2 separate regions of the Homo sapiens genome follow, and region 2 is linked to region 1. The links are contacts of gene promoters, found by promoter capture Hi-C in human tissues and cell types (Jung and others, 2019). All regions are on one chromosome and are shown on one strand. Each heading gives the region's core, a stretch centred on a gene start or on the middle of the fragment in contact. The rest is flanking DNA. Distances are from core to core; before and after follow the strand shown. Region 1 holds the start of STRA6 (signaling receptor and transporter of retinol STRA6). Region 2 overlaps CCDC33 (coiled-coil domain containing 33).

What was found. The method cuts DNA at HindIII sites, captures the fragments that hold promoters and counts their contacts. A contact is called where the count stands out against the background at its distance.
Region 2: a contact is called between a fragment that was not itself captured here and the fragment with the promoter of STRA6 in region 1, in 1 of the 25 tissues and cell types used here (dorsolateral prefrontal cortex).

The regions. Positions count from the first base shown.
Region 1 is chr15:74,201,108-74,205,802 of GRCh38, reverse strand. It overlaps STRA6 (signaling receptor and transporter of retinol STRA6), which reads left to right and starts at 3,016. Exons shown (of 19, transcript NM_022369.4): 1 at 3,016-3,090; 2 at 3,521-3,648. The coding sequence starts at 3,536. It also overlaps a transcript of CCDC33 not described here. RefSeq lists enhancers at 1-625, 2,111-2,744, 2,686-2,855, 4,648-4,695. The HindIII fragment of the contact is 11,640 bases long and covers 1-4,346 here.
Region 2 is chr15:74,257,178-74,261,362 of GRCh38, reverse strand. The region is part of intron 2 of CCDC33 (coiled-coil domain containing 33); the gene reads right to left. Among named protein-coding and RNA genes, the nearest start is that of CCDC33, 23 kb to the right of the region's middle. The HindIII fragment of the contact is 5,844 bases long and covers 1-4,185 here.

The DNA of each region.
Region 1 (4,695 bases), core at 1,767-4,266:
TCTTCCCATGAGGAGGGAGGTGGTATTGTTGGCACTGGGCTCTCCGTGGGGGGTGGGGAAGGGACTGTGCCTGGGCTCAGCTGGGGTCCCTTTCTGCCAGCCTGGCTGCAGCCCCTGGGCAGATGGAGGCTCCTTCAGGCAACCTGATTGCCTTTCTTCAGTGCCCGATATGGTTTGGATGTGTGTGCCCTCCAAATCTCATGTTGAAATGTGACCCCAGTGTTGGAAGTGAGGCCTGGTGTGTGGTGTTTGGGTCATTGCGGGGTATCCCTCCTGAATGGCTTGGTGCCCTCCCTGTGGTAATGAGTGAGTTCTCGCTCTATCAGTTCATGTGAGAGCTGGCTATTTGTAAGTGCCTGGCATCTCTCCTGCTCCCTCTCTTGCCAAGTGTCCTGCCTGACCCCCCTTCACCTTCCATCACGATTGTGGGTTTCCTGAGGCCCTCCCCAGAAGCTGATGCTGGTGCCGTGCTGCTTCCTGCACAGCCTGCAGAACTGTGAGCCACATAAACCCCCTTTCCTTCTAAGTTACCCAGAGTCAGGTTTTCCTTCACAGCAATGCGAAACAGATGAACACAGTGCCCAACTGGTACCTCCCTCTCTCCCCTCTGGTATCAGCAACACACCACCTTCTCAGTGAGGCCTTCCCTGACCACCTTGTCTCAAACAGCCAACTCCCGTCTCTCTTCTCTTCCCCCACTTCACTTCCCCTCTGGTGTTGTCTCCCCTAAGCCCTACCATACATCAGGTTCCATTTGGTGCAGGCCTTGACTCATCTTGCTCGCTGCCAAACCAGCCTGGGGAAGGCAGAGTTAGGCTTCCTCCAAGGAAGAGGATGGTTTCTTTTCTTTCTTTCTTTCTTTTTTTTTGAGATGGAGTTTGCCTCTTTTGTCCAGGCTGGAGTGCAGTGGCACGATCTTGGCTCACTGCAACCTCTGCCCCCTGGGTTCAAGCGATTCTCCTGCCTCAGCCTCCCTAGTAGCTGGGATTACAGGTGTGCGCCACCACGTCCGGCTAATTTTTTGTATTTTTAGTAGAGATGGGATTTTGCCTTGTTGGCCAGGCTGGGTCTCTAACTCCTGACCTCAGGTGATCCACCTGCCTCGGCCTCCCAAAGTGCTAGGATTACAAGTGTAAGCCACCACACCTGGCCAAAGGGCATGGTTTCTGATAGGCAAGGATGTCTAACCCCTGACACTGCTGCCTTGTAGAGGGAGTGGGCTCCCTGTCTGGAACTGGACTCCAATGGTTGGAGGTGGATTTAAAATCAGATGGGAGTTGGCTGCTCCCTAAGGTAACAGTCTGAGACCCCTGAGCAGGGAAGGGCTTGCTGGCCTCTGGTGTGGGCACGGGGACTCTGGGAAGCCCAGCTGGTGAACCTCAGGGCACAGCAGCCGCCTGTATAGGACAGGCCCACAAATGAATACTGGCCGCCAGAACAAGCAATGGCTTTGCCAAGCTCAATTTCTGAAGTCCCTCTTACCCAAGGGCCAGGCGCTGAGCATCAGGGGAAGGCAGGAGGAGGGGTGGGAGGGATAGAGTCCCGCCCTCCGGGAGCTCACACTCGCGCCTGGAAGGCAAGTTTCCCGCATCCCTGGGATCAGAAGGGCCAGTGTGGGCTCCTCATTACATCAAATAAAGCTCGGGTTCAGCTCTGAGTCAGCAGATGCTGATATCTCTGTGGGATGGTGGAGAGCAACAGAGCCCTCTTCCTGCAAGAAGGGCCATTTGGGAAGAAGGGGGAGGAACTCAGGCTAGCAGGGTGCTCAGCCCCTAATCCTGCCCTGCAGGCTTGGGAATTTGAAAGAGAGCCTCCAGGATTTCAAGCCCTGTCTACTCTGAGACTTCACCCGTGCTGTTTCCTCTGTGGGGAACACACTTTCCCCCACCCCCATCCCCATCCTGAGCCTGCCACCCTCTGCTCAGCGGACTTTCCCCTGCCCTTCAGATCACCACGGAAAGGTTCTTTTCTTCAGGAATCTCCCCCCATCCCCAAATGCTCTTGGACTAAATTTGGTTTCCCATGGTACAGACCAGCTCAACCTGTGATTCCCTTTGTAACCCTCAGACTTTGGAGGGGATTTAGTTATCTGGCTGTGTCCCCGCTGAACTGTCATCTCTCCTGCCTCAGGGCTCAGAACAGTGCTGGCACATAGTGTGTGTTCAATAAATTTAAGTTAAAAGACTAAATGAATAATGTCTTCTTAAAAAAGCTGTTGAATGACTGCCTTAGCTGACAGGGTCCAAGCCGAAGCCCCTTGTAGGGTATTGGAAGGACAGAGACCCTCACAGTTTTAGGGGCCTAAACCTCCACCAGGGACAGTGGCCTGAGAACTGCTTTCTACCTTCTTCTGCCTCTCGCCCCTTCCTCCAGGCTGGGGCAGGGTCCTGCTCCTGGGGAGGGAGAATGCGGAGGAGCCCTCCTCCCTGGCCCAGACCTTCCCTTGCTCACCCTCAACCTCACTCCAGGAGGAGCAGGAGGCAGGCGGGGCTCCTCTTGCCTACCCGTGGGTCTGGTTTGTGTTTAAAGAGCTAATTTCCGCCTTGTGGGGGTGAGTTATCTCCTTGTGAAATCAACTTGTAGGAACAAAAAGGGTTTACCAATGAGACACATGTTGCCTCCTTCATGGAAACCCTAGGAGAAGAAACGGACAGATTCCCCTTCCCTGCCTCCGCCCCAGCCCAGCCCCAGCGGTCCGTCTCACTCGGTTGTTGCTGTAATGCTGGTCTCCTGTCTGTGTGCGGCACTGCAGATGTGGCGGGCAGGGGCTTGGGAGCTCTGGGGCAGGCGCTGAAGGCAGGTATGTGTGTGAAGTCAGGTGCGGGGGTGGGGGTGGCTCCTGGCCACACCCTTGCAGGGCTCAGGCCGCCAATGGTGCTGGGGCCTCCTCCCCCAGGAGGGGGGCTTTGTCAAGGATTATGGTGTATTTCCATCACCGAGGCCCAAAGGGGCCAGAAAGGGGCAGGCTGAGGCTGGGGGAGGGGCTCAAGGGAGCCCAGCTGGGAGGGCCCAGGCAGGCAGTGCGGAGCTGGCCGTGGGCTGCCTACCCTTTCATCTCTGCAACTCCTTCCTCCCTGGGCCTCCCTTCTGGTGTGTCTGTGGGTCTGTCTAGGTGGGCTTGGGAAAGGGGAAGGAAGGGGCGTCTCTTTAGGCAGCTCAGACTGGACAAGCCTTCTTTGAAAATGGTCCTTTGAACACACGCCTGCTGGTGGTTGGTCAGACAGATGCGCCAGCGGGAGCCCCGGGGCCCCAAGGGGACAGCTATCTCTGCAGGACCAGTGCGATGGGCGGGAAGGGAGGAGGGGACACGAGAGGCCCTGTCCTCTTCCCGTGCCAGCTTGCTCAGGCCCTCAGTCCCAGACGGGCTTTTCCCAGAGAGCTAAAAGTAAGAAAGTAACCTTCAGGATTAAAGAGAAATGTTTCTTTGTTTGGGTTTTCCGTCTTTCTTTCTTTTTTTTTCTCTTTTAAGCCTCTTTTCACATCTGTAGTGGCTTTTTTTTTCTCTCGCCTGGGGTCAAAGGAGAAGGGCCAGAGAATGTCGTCCCAGCCAGCAGGGAACCAGACCTCCCCCGGGGCCACAGAGGACTACTCCTATGGCAGCTGGTACATCGATGAGCCCCAGGGGGGCGAGGAGCTCCAGCCAGAGGGGTAAGTGTGGAACCACCCCACCTCACTCTGTCAGCCATCAGAATGGGGTGATGGCAGAGGTTGCAACTGGCCAGGGAGCAGCTCCTGGGCAGGGGCTGCTAGGTCTGGCTCTGCCACTCATTTGCTGTGTGACCTTGGGCAAGTCACAGCCTCTCTGGGGTTCATTCAGTCTCTGCCTCTGTTACATGAGAACAACATCCCTCACCCTGCTGTTAAGACACCTAAGGCTGGTCACCTTAGGTATGATGTGTGACGTGTTAAAAATACAGATGATTCAGATCTGCAGGGATGGCTCCCTGGGTGATTCTGGCCCATAGCCAGGATGGAGAAGCTGCTGAGAGCAGTTGAGGCAAGCAGACCTCCCTTCAAGGGGTTATTGGTCTCTGTGGTGAGCATTTGGGTGTGGTGTTTCCAAGTGTCAAGTTCTCTGGGCAGGCTGGGGGATTCGGGGAAGGCAGAGAACCAAAGGGAGAAAGCCTGGTGAGAAGTCACTGAGGAAACAAGCACCCTTGTTGTCTTTGGATGGTCTCAGAGGATGAGGAGAGCCTATTCCCTTTAGCAGAAGTGCTCAGGCCAGCCCAGGTGAGGGTGGGAGCAGGAAGGCAGCCCGCCCCAGGGTGGCCTGAGAACCCAGCCACAGCTGCTTTGCCTGGGTCCATTCTACCGGGGTTTAGTCTGGGCACCCTGGTGGAGGAGCTGGGCCCCTTCTGTGTCCCCCACCTCCTGCCAGGATGTCTTGCCTGTGTAGGACCCAGAGCCAGTTCTCCCCTGTTGTTCCCAGGCCTGGCCCCATCCCTTATCTCCCTGCTCTGTCTGACGGTTTGGAGAAGTAGAAAGGTGAGGCTGGGGGTTGCCGAGCCAGATGTGTGCACATCTGTTCTCCATCAAAACCTGAAACTTGAGAAGGAAAAATCCTTGCGTGCCTCCCCAGGGGCTGGGGCTGCGGCCTGGCTGGGCTTGGGTCATCCAGCAGGGACAGAGGCTCCACCCAGGCCTCGGGGAAGGAGCTGTTGTTTGGAGGACTCAGGGTTCTGACCACCTGGAAAA
Region 2 (4,185 bases), core at 762-3,261, 57 kb before region 1:
TCCTCTCCTCCAAGAAGCCCTCTGGAGTCCCCCGGCCCTCACTGTTCCCTCTGCCCTTTAGACTTAAGTGACGCTGTGACCTGGCTCCTTGCTCCCACTCATCACAGCCCTGCTCCTGTGGGTAACCATGCTTGCAGGAGCCCTTCTTCTGTGGGTGACCATGCTTGCAGGAGTTCCATCTCCAAGTTCCAGGGGTCAACTGAGGACTCCTGCTGTGCTTTGACTGAGGCAGTATGACACAGTGATTGTAAGAAGGACCCTGCAGCTGGGCATTTTGGGTTCCAAATCCCAGCTCTACCCCGTGCCAGCTGTGTGATGTTAGGCAAGGTACAGAACCTGTGGTGCCTTATTTTCTTCATCTATAAAACAGAGATGCTAACGGTGCCCAGCCTGCAGGGCGGTTGTGGGAAGGAAACGAATGAATATGTGTAGTGCCTGGCACATTGCTAAGTACCAAGAAAGTGTTAATAATTCTTAGTACCTTAAATTATTAAAATATAAATATGATTCCTGTTATTACCCCATAGCACCAGAGAGCTTAGCCTTATTGACCCTCCTGTGACCAGCCCCTTTGCCGTGGCGTGATTTTTCCCCATCATGCCCCCAGTTCTGGGTCTACAATTGGGAATGTCTGGCTGCTCGGGCCAAGGTGTGGAATCCTGGAAAGAGCACAGGCTTGGGAATGATTCAGAGCTGGGTTTGGAGCCCGCGTTTATCCTGGCGAGATCATCTCCCCTCTGCACCTACTAAGTTCCTCCTTTTTCAATAGTACCGCCCTGAGAGAGTGTTATAAGGACTGGAAAGAAAGCATGTTCAGCTCCTGGCATCCAGAAAGCCCCAGTTCATGTTATTCCCTCATTTGTGATACAAAACAGCTTGGGTGTTTTTGCAAGAGGACCTGCCTGAGGGCAGCATGAAGGGGAAGGAGCACTGAGTACAAGCTGGGGTGAGAAGGGGCATCTCCCAGAGAGCCGGAGTCCTTCTCAGATGAGCGTCCATCCAGACACACCCCTGCAGGCTCTGCAGAATGGACTCCTCACACCCGCAAAGTGGTGTGTGGGAGGCTGCCAGGCTAGAGAGGGAAGGCAGAAGCCTGGCAGGAACGTGGCGCTCAGCTTGCTCCCTCCACCCTCGGGTCCCTTTTTCCCTCCGGCTCTGTGACCATGCTTGACCAAGGGGTGCAATCTAAGTACCTCCCATGACGCTCTGTGCCTAGGCTCCCGCTCCTGACAGCTGCCCCAGCAAAGTCAGAGACCTCAGGCTCTCAGCAGCCTCCCTGTGCTACCCAGCCACCCGATCTGCTACTTATAGATATATAGTTAGTGCACAATAAGGCCTCACAGCCTCCCTCCTCAGGGACCTGCACAGAAACAGCAGAAAAGCAGAAGCGCCAAGGGTGTGTCAGGAAGAAGTCAGTCCTTCTGCACCCAGATGTCAACCCCAGAGCTGGACACAAAACTGCACCTGCATGGACACATTCCTGGGGGATTCCCAGGGATCTTCATGTGGCTCTGTGTGCACAGAGAAGACACAAATGAAGGTGTGAAGTCACAGGCAACATAGTGACAGGATTCAGATTGAACCCCATGCCAGCCTGTCTTCTACTGTCCTCGTATCCTCCCAACCCTCCTGGGAGGGTGGCAGGAGGAATTCCCAGGTGCAAAGAGGTGGGTAAAGGTGACGGGGCAAGGCAAGGGAGCAGGTGCTGACTTTCCTCCAGCAGAGAAAGAGTTAAGCAACTATTTTCCCCACCTCCCTGCCCCATCTAATATGAAGGTCATCAGGGCTAGGTGAGTGCAGATAAAGCAACTGGGTGGGAGGGGGAGGCCCCAGGGGAAGGGGGAGGCTTTTAGCAGGTGGAGGGAGGCTCTCGGGGTAATGGCTTTTCCTGGCACAGCTGACTCCTCCGGGTCTTGATGCTATTCTAGAATCTGGAGAGCAAGAAGGGCCTCTGATTCTTCACAGAATAGGAGCAGGGGATGAGCTCACTCCCTGCTCCCAGCCCCATTCTGCACCCCGCAGATGGGCACGTGGCTGAGTTCCAGGTCCCCAGGCTCTCTCGGGGCTCCCAATGCAGTCTTAGAACCCAGGGGACCTCACCAAGACCTGCTTCCCTAGGCCTCTCCACAGGCTGTCTGCAAGGAGAGACCCCCCTCCCTGTCCCCCCAAAGACCTGCCCTGTTGACTTGGACCCGTTGGCTCCAGGCATCCAGGGCCAGGAGGAGCTAGTGGGTGGTGCCTGCTGTCTCGGGGCCAGATTTAATCCAGCCACAGCATGGGCAGCCATGCCAGGATAGGACTGGAGTTGGGTTTAGAGTGCAGCAGCCCTGAGACCAAGCTGCAGGAAAACATAAACCTCCCTCAACCTGGCCTACCCTCCAGGCTGCTGGAAGGGTGTGTGTGTCTTTGACAAACTCCAGTCCCCAGCTAGGCATTCCTGGGGCCCCCACCCCAGCAGGGTGTAAGGGGGCCAGGCTCAAGCACAGCTGTGAGTGGGAGGGAACAAGGACTTTGCTTTCCTTCTGCAAGGTCATGACTAAGGGAAAATATGTCATCTGGTTCCCGGGGGCTGCAGCTGTGAGTGGAAGAAATGAGCATCGGAAAAGCATGGGATTTGATGGACAGAAAGCAAGAGTGCTCATGAGCCGCTTTCCCCCTCACTCCAGGAGACACACACACACATCCACACATACATACACACACATGCACACACATGCGCACAAATGCATGCACACACACATACATGCACACATGCACGTGCACAAAGGCTGCCCAGAGAGGTGTGAGTACCATACTGTACCCACTCTTGTTACCCAGTCCTCAGGCTGCCTCTGGGGTCTTCTATTCACACCTGAGCCCACCTCCCCCACCTGCCCTGCCTGTCCTGTTGGCCTCTGGCTCCCTCAAAGCCTCAAATCATGAACAATAGTCAAGACCTGGCCGCCTCCTGGGCAGAGCTTTAGAAGCTGGGGCACAGGCGGCCTGGTTTGTTTTGAGTGCCAATCCCAGGACAGCCACCAAGAGAGCAAAGGAAAGGGGAGGGCCCTGACTCAGATCTGCTGTGGCTGCTGGGGTCTTGGCTGGGCAGGCTTGTAAATCCTGAGAGACTAGAGTGATGTTCCCAGAAGCCCCTGGCACTGGGGAAGTCAGGCAGGCACTGGGAATAGTGGATAAGGAGCAGACCTTTAAGTGGATGGATGGTGGAATAGGAGGTATTGGGCACCTTTGACCTGGCCCATCACAACCCATTGCTGGCTCACCTGGGAAACTGAGAGGGAGGTGAGGGAACTGGCAGTCCTGCAGGCCAGCTGTCAAGGTGTAATGGTTGGGTCTCAATCTTTCCTGAGAAGGTAGGGCAATTCTCCTCAACCTGCTTCCTCCATGCCAACTTCTGAGCCAGGGAGGCCTGCCTCCCCCATCCTCCAGAAGTCCAAGAGGCTGCCAGACTCCCAGGCCATAGGCTAGGCCTGCCTCCACTCCTGGAAGCTCTGAAAAACCCAGTGACCTCTTCCCAATCCAGGAGCCCAGTCTTATGCAACAGGAGGTGTGGAGTTGGCTTCTGCAGAGACAGTCATCTGAATGGGGTGGCCAAAGTCTGGGTTCCTGTGTTTCTGACCCTAAACCTGGAGAAGGCAGGGCTTGAACAGATAGATTGGAGGATCTTTCCACTTAGAGGAGAGAAGGTGAGGCTTGAGGGGGGCTGTTTGGCTGATGCAGGTGCTGACTTCGGAGCATGGGTTGGGGGAGTCAGGAGAGGGAGGCTGTGGTTCTCCCCCGAGTCCCTCTCAAGGCCCCTTTTTGCCGTGGCCACAATCAGTGTCTTCTGAAGCCAGGCAGGCAGGAGGGAAGAGCCCCAGCCCTCACACCTCTGGCCTTAGCCAAGCTCCCCTGGGATTGCTGGGCAGGGGGTTGTGCCCAGGGACTCCTCAAAGGAGGAGCTGAGATCTGAGGCAGGGAGTCAGTGCTGAAGCTCCCTTCTCTTCTCGCCCCCGCTTCACCAGACAACAGCCTTGACAAGGCCCCCAGTCTGTGCTGCCGCCTCCCCCAGCCCCATGCTGACGGCAGGGCAGCTGGTCCTTGTGGGTTTTGAGCCCCAGGAGGCTGCCACTTAAGGCATGAGCAGGGCTGTTATTCTCAGCAACGCGAGGGACTCTCATCCTGGGTTTCATTTATTAATTGGACTCT